Regions from separate parts of the Homo sapiens genome. Here region 1 is linked to region 2. The links are contacts of gene promoters, found by promoter capture Hi-C in blood cells and fetal thymus (Javierre and others, 2016). All regions are on one chromosome and are shown on one strand. The core of a region is centred on a gene start or on the middle of the fragment in contact, and the rest is flanking DNA. Distances in the headings are between cores, read along the strand shown.

What was found. The method cuts DNA at HindIII sites, captures the fragments that hold promoters and counts their contacts. A CHiCAGO score of 5 or more calls a contact.
Region 1: a contact is called between a fragment that was not itself captured here and the fragment with the promoter of ZNF101 in region 2, in 1 of 17 cell types (neutrophils). The highest score is 5.2, in neutrophils.

The regions. Positions count from the first base shown.
Region 1 is chr19:19,768,830-19,773,288 of GRCh38, reverse strand. The region is part of intron 1 of LINC00663 (long intergenic non-protein coding RNA 663); the gene reads left to right. Among named protein-coding and RNA genes, the nearest start is that of LINC00663, 5.4 kb to the left of the region's middle. The HindIII fragment of the contact is 452 bases long and covers 1,502-1,953 here.
Region 2 is chr19:19,667,451-19,671,701 of GRCh38, reverse strand. ZNF101 (zinc finger protein 101) reads right to left here and starts at 2,863. Exons shown (of 4, transcript NM_033204.4): 1 at 2,736-2,863. The coding sequence starts at 2,738. RefSeq lists enhancers at 2,042-2,607, 2,608-3,174 and a silencer at 2,454-2,653. The HindIII fragment of the contact is 10,038 bases long and covers 1-4,251 here.

The DNA.
Region 1 (4,459 bases), core at 478-2,977, 100 kb before region 2:
AGGTCAGGAGTTTAAGACCAGCCTGGCCAAGATGGTGAAACCCCGTCTCTACTAAAAATACAAAAAAATTAGCCGGGCGCGGTGGCAGGCGCCTGTAATCCCAATTACTCAGGAGGCTGAGGCAGGAGAATCGCTTGAACTTGGGGGGCGGAGGTCGCAGTGAGCCGAGATCGTGCCACTGCACTCCAGCCTCGGTGACAGAGTGAGACTCCATCTCAAAAAAAAAAGAAAAGAAAAGAAAAAAAGAAAAGGGCCATGTGAGGATACAGAGGAAGGTGGCGCCATACGCAGAGGGCTCAGGAGAAACCAGCTGTCCTGGGACCTTGATCTTAGACTTCCAGCCTCCAGAACTGTGAGATGATTTATTTTAACTCACCCAGACTCTGGTATTTTCTTATGGCAGCCCTAGACGACTAATACACTTTATTATTCTTTTTATGTCTGCAGGGTATGTAATGATATCCTTTGTTTCTTTTTTTTTTTTTTTTTTTTTGAGATGGAGTCTCGCTTTGTAGCCAGACTGGAGTGCAGTGGCCCGACCTTGGCTCACTGTAATCTCCACCTCCTGGGTTCAAGCAATTCTCCTGCGTCAGCCTCCCGAGTAGCTGGGACTACAGGCACCCACCACCACGCCCAGCTAATTTTTATTTTTTGTATTTTTAGTAGAGACAGGGTTTCACCATATTGGCCAGGCTGGTCTCGAACTCCTGACCTTGTGATCCACCTGACTCAGCCTCCCAAAGTACTAGGATTACAGGCGTGAGCCACCGCGCCTGGCCGATATCCCTTGTTTCATTCCTGACAGGGTAATTTGTGTCTTGTCCTTTCCCCCACTTAGTCTTGCTTGAGGTTTGTCTATTTAATTGATCTTTTCAAAAAAAATCAGCTGTCTGTTTTATTGGTTTTTCTCTATTACTTTCTGAGTCTCAACTTTATTTCTCTTCCTATCTTTATTATTTCTTTCTTAATACTTCTTTTGTTTGGGTTTAGTTTATTAAGTTTGACCTTTTCCCAGGTTATCGATGTGGAAAATTAGATTATCTGGAGACTTAGTTTTTTTCTTTTTTTTCTTCTTTTTTTTTGAGACAGTCTTGCTCTGTCGCCCAGGCTGGGGTGCAGTGGCGCCATCTCGGCTTACTGCAAGCTCCGCCTCCTGGGTTCATGCCATTCTCCTGCCTCAGCCTGGGACTACAGGCACCTGCTGCCACGCCCGGCTAATTTTTTTTTTTTTTTTTTTTTTTTTTTTGTATTTTTAGTAGAGACCGGGTTTCACCGTGTTAGCCAGGATAGTCTGGATCTCCTGGCCTCGGCCTCCCAAAGTGCTGGGATTACAGGCTTGAACCACCGCGCCCGACCAGCCTTTTCTAATATATGAGTTTAGTGCCATCAGTTTCTTCAGTACACTGCTTTAGTTGTGTCTTACAAATTTTGATCCATTGTCTTTTCATCATCTTTGTGGTCAATGTATTTTTTGTTTTCCCAGGGACTTCCCCTTCAAGCTTGCAAGAGTTGGAGATGTTTGCATTGTCTTCACATTATTGATTTCTAGTCTGACTCCATTATGATCCGAGAACACACTCCGTGTAATCTGATTTTTAAAATTTGTTGAAGTTTGTTTCATGGCCTAGGAGATGGTCTATCTTACTTTATGTTCCATGAGCCCTTGAAGAGAATGCATATGCTGCTGCTGTTGATTAAATTACTCTACAAATGTCAACCAGATCCTGTTGATGAATGATGGTGTTGAACTGTTGTCTTTTTTTTAGATTTGCTGCTGAAATTTTCTCTGTTCTATTGTTTAGAGAAAAATGTCAATATCTCCAACGATAATTGTGTATTTGTCTTATTGTCTGTTTCTCCTCTGTTTGTTCCAGTTTTTGTTTCACATTTTTCATGTCTGTTGATTTATGCCTACACATTTAGGACTGCTGGGTCTTCTGGGTGGATTAAGCTTTTTATCATTATGTAATTTCTCTCCATGTCTCAATTTTTTTCTCTGAAATCTACTTTATCCGATATTATTGTAACTACTCATGCTTTCCTTGATTACTTGTATCTTTTTCCAGCTTCTTATACTTTATTTATTTATTTTAAATTTATTTTTGATATGGAGTCTCACTCTGTTGCCCAGGCTGGAGTACAGTGGCGTGATCTCGGCTCACTGCAACTTCTGCCTCCCCAGTTCAAGCGATTCTCCTGCCTCAGCCTCCCAAGTAGCTGGGATTATAGGCACCAGCCACCACACCTGGCTAATTTTTGTATTTTTAGTAGAGCCAGGGTTTCACTATGTTGGCCAGGCTGGTCTTGAACTCCTGACCTCAAGTGATTCGCCCACCCCAGCCTCCCAAAGTGCTGGGATTACAGGCGTGAGTGAGCCACCACGCCTTGCCCAGCTTCTTATACTTTAAATTTACCTTTTTTTTTCTGATTTTATTCTGCTTTTTTTTTTTTTTTTTTTTTTTTTTTTTAGTATTTATTGATCATTCTTGAGTGTTTCTCGGAGAGGGGGATTTGGCAGGGTCATAGGACAATAGTGGAGGGAAGGTCAGCAGATAAACAAGTGAACAAAGGTCTCTGGTTTTCCTAGGCAGAGGGCCCTGCCGCCTTCCACAGTGTTTGTGTCCCTGGGTAGTTGAGATTAGGGAGTGGTGATGATTCTTAGAGCATGCTGCCTTCAAGCATCTGTTTAACAAAGCACAACTTGCACCGCCCTTAATCCATTTAACCCTTAGTGGACACAGCACCTGTTTCAGAGAGCACGGGGTTGGGGGTAAGGTTATAGATTAACAGCATCCCAAGGCAGAAGAATTTTTCCTAGTACAGAACAAAATGGAGTCTCCTATGTCTACTTCTTTCTACACAAACACAATAACAATCTGATCTCTCTTTCTTTTCCCCACATTTCCCCCTTTTCTATTCGACAAAACCGCCATTGTCATCATGGCCCGTTCTCAATGAGCTGTTGGGTACACCTCCCGGACGGGGCGGCTGGCCGGACGGGAGCTGCCCCCCACTTCCCAGATGGGGCGGCTGCCGGGCGGAGGGGCTCCTCACTTCTCAGACGGGGCGGCCGGGCAGGGACGCTCCTCACCTCCCAGATGGGGTGGCGGCGGGGCAGAGACACTCCTCAGTTCCCAGACGGGGTCGCGGCCGGGCAGAGGCACTCTTCACATCTCAGATGGGGCGGCAGGGCAGAGGTGCTCCCCACATCCCAGATGATGGGCGGCCAGACAGAGACGCTCCTCACTTCCTAGACGGGATGATGGCCGGGAAGAGGCACTCCTCACTTCCCAGACTGGGCGGCCGGGCAGAGGGGCTCCTCACATCCCAGACGATGGGCGGCCAGGCAGAGACGCTCCTCACTTCCTAGACGGGGTGGCGGCCGGGCAGAGGCTGCAATCTCGGCACTTTGGGAGGCCAAGGCAGGCAGTTGGGAGGTGGAGGTTGTAGCGATCCGAGATCACGCCACTGCACTCCAGCCTGGGCAACATTGAGCACTGAGTGAGCGAGACCCCGTCTGCAATCCCGGCACCTCGGGAGGCCGAGGGTGGCAGACCACTCGCAGTCAGGAGCTGGAGACCAGCCCGGCCAACACGGCGAAACCCCGTCTCCACCAAAAAATACGAAAACCATCAGGTGTGGCGGCGCGCGCCTGCAATCGCAGGCACTCGGCAGGCTGAGGCAGGAGAATCAGGCAGGGAGGCTGCAGTGAGCCGAGATGGCGGCAGTACCGTCCAGCCTCGGCTCCGCATCAGAGGGAGACTGTGCAAAGGGGAGACGAGGACCGTGCAAAGGGGAGAGGGAGGGGGAGGGGGAGAGGGAGAGGGCTTATTCTAAATTTACCTTTTTATATTGGAAGTGAGTTTCTTCTAAAGAGAATATGCATGGTCATATTTATTAATCAGTGTTGTCAGGCCGGGAACAGTGGCTCACGCCTGTAATCCCAGCACTTTGGGAGGCTGAGGCGTGCGGATCACGAAGTCAGAAGATCGAGACCATCCTGGCTAACACGGTGAAACCCCGTCTCTACTAAAAATACATAAAAAATAGCCGGGCGTGGTGGCGGGCACCTGTAGTGCCAGCTACTCGGGAGGCTGAGGCAGGAGAATGGCGTGAACCTGGGAGGCGGAGCTTGCAGTAAGCCAAGATCTCGCCACTGCACTCCAGCCTGGGCGACAGAGGAGATTCCGTCTCAAAAAAAAAAAAAAAATCAATGTTTTCAATCTTTGTCTCTAATTGATTATTTTATTTTATTTATTTATTTTTGACTGGTGGCAGTAGAATTTATTCAAATGTGCCTTAATACAGGTGCTAGGGCTTGCCGGTGGTGCTCTTGTTATATAAGGGCCGGACATTCTGCCGGTTTTCCGTGAGCAGTGACATCAGGAAGTTTACAGCCAGGTGAATGTTACACACATCGTCTGTGTGTAACATCGTCTGTCATCTTCACGTGGCTGAC
Region 2 (4,251 bases), core at 1,614-4,113:
CGGTGAAACCCCGTCTCTACTAAAAATACAAAAAATTAGCCGGGCGTAATGGCGGGCACCTGTAGTCCCAGCTACTCGGGAGGCAGAGGCAGGAGAATGGCGTGAACCCGGGAGGCGGAGCTTGCAGTGAGCCGAGATCGCGCCACTGCACTCCAGCCTGGGCGACAGAGCAAGACTCTGTCTCAAAAAAAAAAAAAAAATCCTAACACCTAAGGTGATGGTATTAATATTACGGGCAGCAACTCTGGGAAATAACTGGGATTACATGAGATCATGAGAGAGACCTAGGAGTACAGATTAGTATCCTTAGGAAAAGAGATGAGTATCTATCACTTTCAGATGTCATTCAGTATTTTTTCCATAATAAACTATTCAGTAAACAAAAGATCATATCTGACTACTTCTAGATGTTGCCAAACTTATCCCAAAGGATTCAGCGTTAATCTGTCAAATCCAGATAACACAAAACAGAACAGAGTTATCCACCATCACAAATTCCCCAACCTGCAAAGGAGAGGAGCTGATGTGCTGGTGAATCTTTGTAAATCACTAATTTCTGCTTATCTACCATGCCTTTTTTTATTATGTATTTTTTGAGATGGAGTCTCGCTCTGTCGCGCAGGCTGGAGTGCAGTGGCGCGATCTCCAGCTCACTGCAAGCTCCGCCTCCCGGATTCACGCCATTCTCCTGCCTCAGCCTCCAGAATATCTGGGACTACAGGCGCTCGCCACCACGCCTGGCTAATTTTTTTGTATTTTTAGTAGAGACGGGGTTTCCCCGTGTTAGCCAGGATGGTCTCGATCTCCTGACCTCGTGATCTGCCTGCCTCTGCCTCCCAAAGTGTTGGGATTACAGGCGTGAGCCATCGCGCCCGACCTACCATGCCTTTTTTTTGTGGGAATGTATTCATATTCTGCAGCCATAATGGAAGATTTCCTTTTTTTTTTTTAAAGACAGGGTCTCACTCTGTCGTTCAGTGCAGTGGCGCAATCACAGCTAACGGCAGTCTCAACCTCCCCGGGTTCAGGTGGCTCTCCCACCTCAGTCTCCTGAGTAGCTGAGACTACAGGCATGCGCCACCATACCCGGCTAATTTTTGTATTTGTTGTAGAAATGGGGTCTCGCCACTTTGCCCAGGATGGTCTCAAACTTCTGGGCTCAAGAGATCTTCCCGCCCCAGCCTCCCAAAGTGCTGGAATTACAGGCGTGAGCCACCTGGGCAGGAGAATCGCTTTTGACTTCCAGAGCAGACTGGGCAACATAGTGAGACCTTGTCTCTACAAAAAATAAAAACTAGCCGGGCGTGGCGCATGCCTGTGGTCCCAGCTTCTTGGAAGACTGAGGCAGGAGGATTGCTTGGGCCCCAGAGGTTGAGGCCGTAGTAAGCCATGACTGTGCCACTGCATGCCACCCTGAGCTGCCTCAGAAGGGAGAAGTTTCTTTCTACTGTTTCTGGCCCCACCCCACCCCCAAGGGCCAGCAGGGAATCCCTCTGGAATTTCCTAAGGAAACTTCTTTTCAAAAGACAAGAACTCCTCCCTAGGAGGCTCATCAAACAACCAGGAAAGATTAACCACGCCAGGACAGACTTTTCACCCGTTCTTCCGAGGGCAGCTGGAAGAAGTCCCTGGACGGTCCTGAAACCCAGGACCAGAAAGATAGGAGGGTGGGCTGAGGACCCAATACCCTGTGAAGTTCCCAAGAGAAGCCTCCACCCAAAGACTGTCTGATAAGGTGGCCGCGCCTAGGGAAGGTAAAAAGAGGGCAGGCACAGTGATTTTTTTTTTTTAACATCGGAGTGTCAGGGGGTTATTTTCTGCTTTGCTCGCATGTGAAATGTTCACAAACGGAAAATGAACTTTTTAAGAAGTGCCATCTAGGGCTCCTTGGAAAAGATGACAGTTAAAACACTGGGTCTTGCCAGGCGCAGTGGCTCAAGCCTGTAATCCCAGCACTTTGGGAGACCGAGGCAGGCAGATACCTGAGATCAGGACTTCAGCACGGCCAACATGGTGAACCTGTCTCTACTGAAAATACAAGTTAGCCGGACGTGGTGGCGGGCACCTGTAATTCCAGCTACTCAGGAGGCTGAGGCAGGAGAATCACTTGAACCCGGAAGACGGAGGCTGCAGTGAGCCCAGACAGTGCCACTGCACTCCAGCCTGGGCGACAGAGTGAGACTCCGTCTCAAAAATAATAGAAATAATGATAATAATAATAATGTGAAGTGGATGTACTGGAGGGAGAACTTAGGGTTGGGGAATGCGGGGAAATTTAGGGATTTACTGCAGCCCTGGGAGGAGCGAAGCTGGGGGACGGGGTCGTGGGTTTGAAACCCAGCTTCCCACACCTTTGGAAGACTCCGAAGGAAACGGGGACCGCCTAAGGGAGGAGGAACTGGGGACCCCACAGGCCACGGCTCCTCCCGCACGAACCCCACACCCGAGGCGGGATTCCCCCTAAGACCCTCCTGAGGCCCCCGCACGATCTGGGGAGACGCGGGGCTGCGGGCGCGGAGCTGCCCTGAGAGGGCTCCGGGGCCGGGACAGGACACCCGGGGTCCCGGCGGCTGGTCCAGCTCCACCCGGCGACCGAGGGGACCAAGGGTCGAGCTGCGCCTGGGGGACTCGGGTCCCAGACCCCCACAGTCGCCGCGGGGAGGCCCAGGTCCAGCCACTGCCGGTTCCGACCAGCTCCTCCTCAGGTCTCCGGACGCCCGGCTCCGCACGCTCACCATTTCCGGCTTCCGGGTGTCCTGGGTCCTTCCTGGGGCTGGAGCAGCCAGAACAGGTCCCACACGACAAAATCAGCCGTATCCGGGGCACCAGGGGCTCCCCGAGGAACTAAAACCCGGACCCGAATGGGGGGCCGGCGGGAAATGAGACCGCTTCGGGCTTTGGAAGTTGCCCCTCCTCCCGGCGCACCTGATTGGACAGTTTGCCGCACAGCGCCTCTGACTGGCTGGTGCCCCAGGTCCCGCCCCTGGGGCTTGAGCGACAGGAGAGGTGATCGGAATCCTCAAATAATCCGCTCGCTGTGTGGGGTGTGACTGACAGGTGCTACCCACAGCCCCTCGCTGGGACCTTGGACCTGGACTTGCATGGAAGCAGAACTTGCTCCCGTTAGGGTCAACCCAACCAGACTGTTCCCCTCCTTCCCCCATCAGTCTTACAATACAGTCCTTTGTGACCGCCACACAACTCCCCCCGGGCTAGAAGTAGACCTCCTCCCCACTGACCCTTCCAGTAACTGTTTGTTCAAAAGACTTCAGCTGAACCGGCAGACAGTTCCAGGATGCGGTCACAACACCTGCCCACCTTGCATAACAAAGCTGGCAAAAACATCTCCAGGATGCGGTCAGGACACCTGCACCCCCGACTCAGTTCTCACACCCCAGCCCAGTTCCTCGCCCTATAAAGCCCTGCTGTAGTCTGTAAGCGGGGCTGCCTCCTCTAACTGTGGGGGAGCAGCCCAGCAGGTTAATAAAACTTACTTGACTGACTTCAGGTCTCTTCGTCCTTTCGGCTGACCTTACAGCTCCTGGTTTTCCGGAGCAGGCCCTGTCGGCTTCCTGTACTCAGTGGGTCCTTCCTGCTGCTTTTTTTTTTTTTTTTTGAGACGGAGTTTCGCTCTTGTTGCCCAGGCTGGAATGCAATGGCACGATCTCAGCTAACTGCAACCTCCGCTTTCCGGTTTCAAGCGATTCTCCTGCCTCAGCCTCCCGGGTAGCTGCGATTACAGGCGCCCACCACCACTCCCGGCTAATTTTTGTATTTTTAGTAGAAATGGGGTTTCACCATGTTGGCCAGGCTGGTCTCGAACTCCTGATCTCGTGATCCGCCGGCCTCGGCCTCTCAAAGTGCTGGGATTACAGGCGTGAGCCACCGCGCCCAGCCGCCTCCTGCTTCTTTTTCCGGAACACCGGTCACATGAGTGTGCACGGAATTCCAGACTCCGTGTTCAGTGAAGCCATCCCTCCACCTTGGAGCTGGAGAGACTCCCAGGTCACAATGGAACAGGTAGGAGGCCCTGATGTCCTCCAGAGATCAGGAATTTATGAGGCTATTGGTCCCATGGCCAAGGCTTCCTACACGTTACTTCTTCTCAGGCTACTCCTTTTCAGCCAAGAAAATAAAAACATGCCTTAAAGGGAACAAAATTATTAAATGCAGGGAAAAACTGGAGTAAACCACTTTTTTTTTCTTTTTTTTTGAGACGGAGTCTGGCTCTGTCGCCCAGGCTGGAGTGCA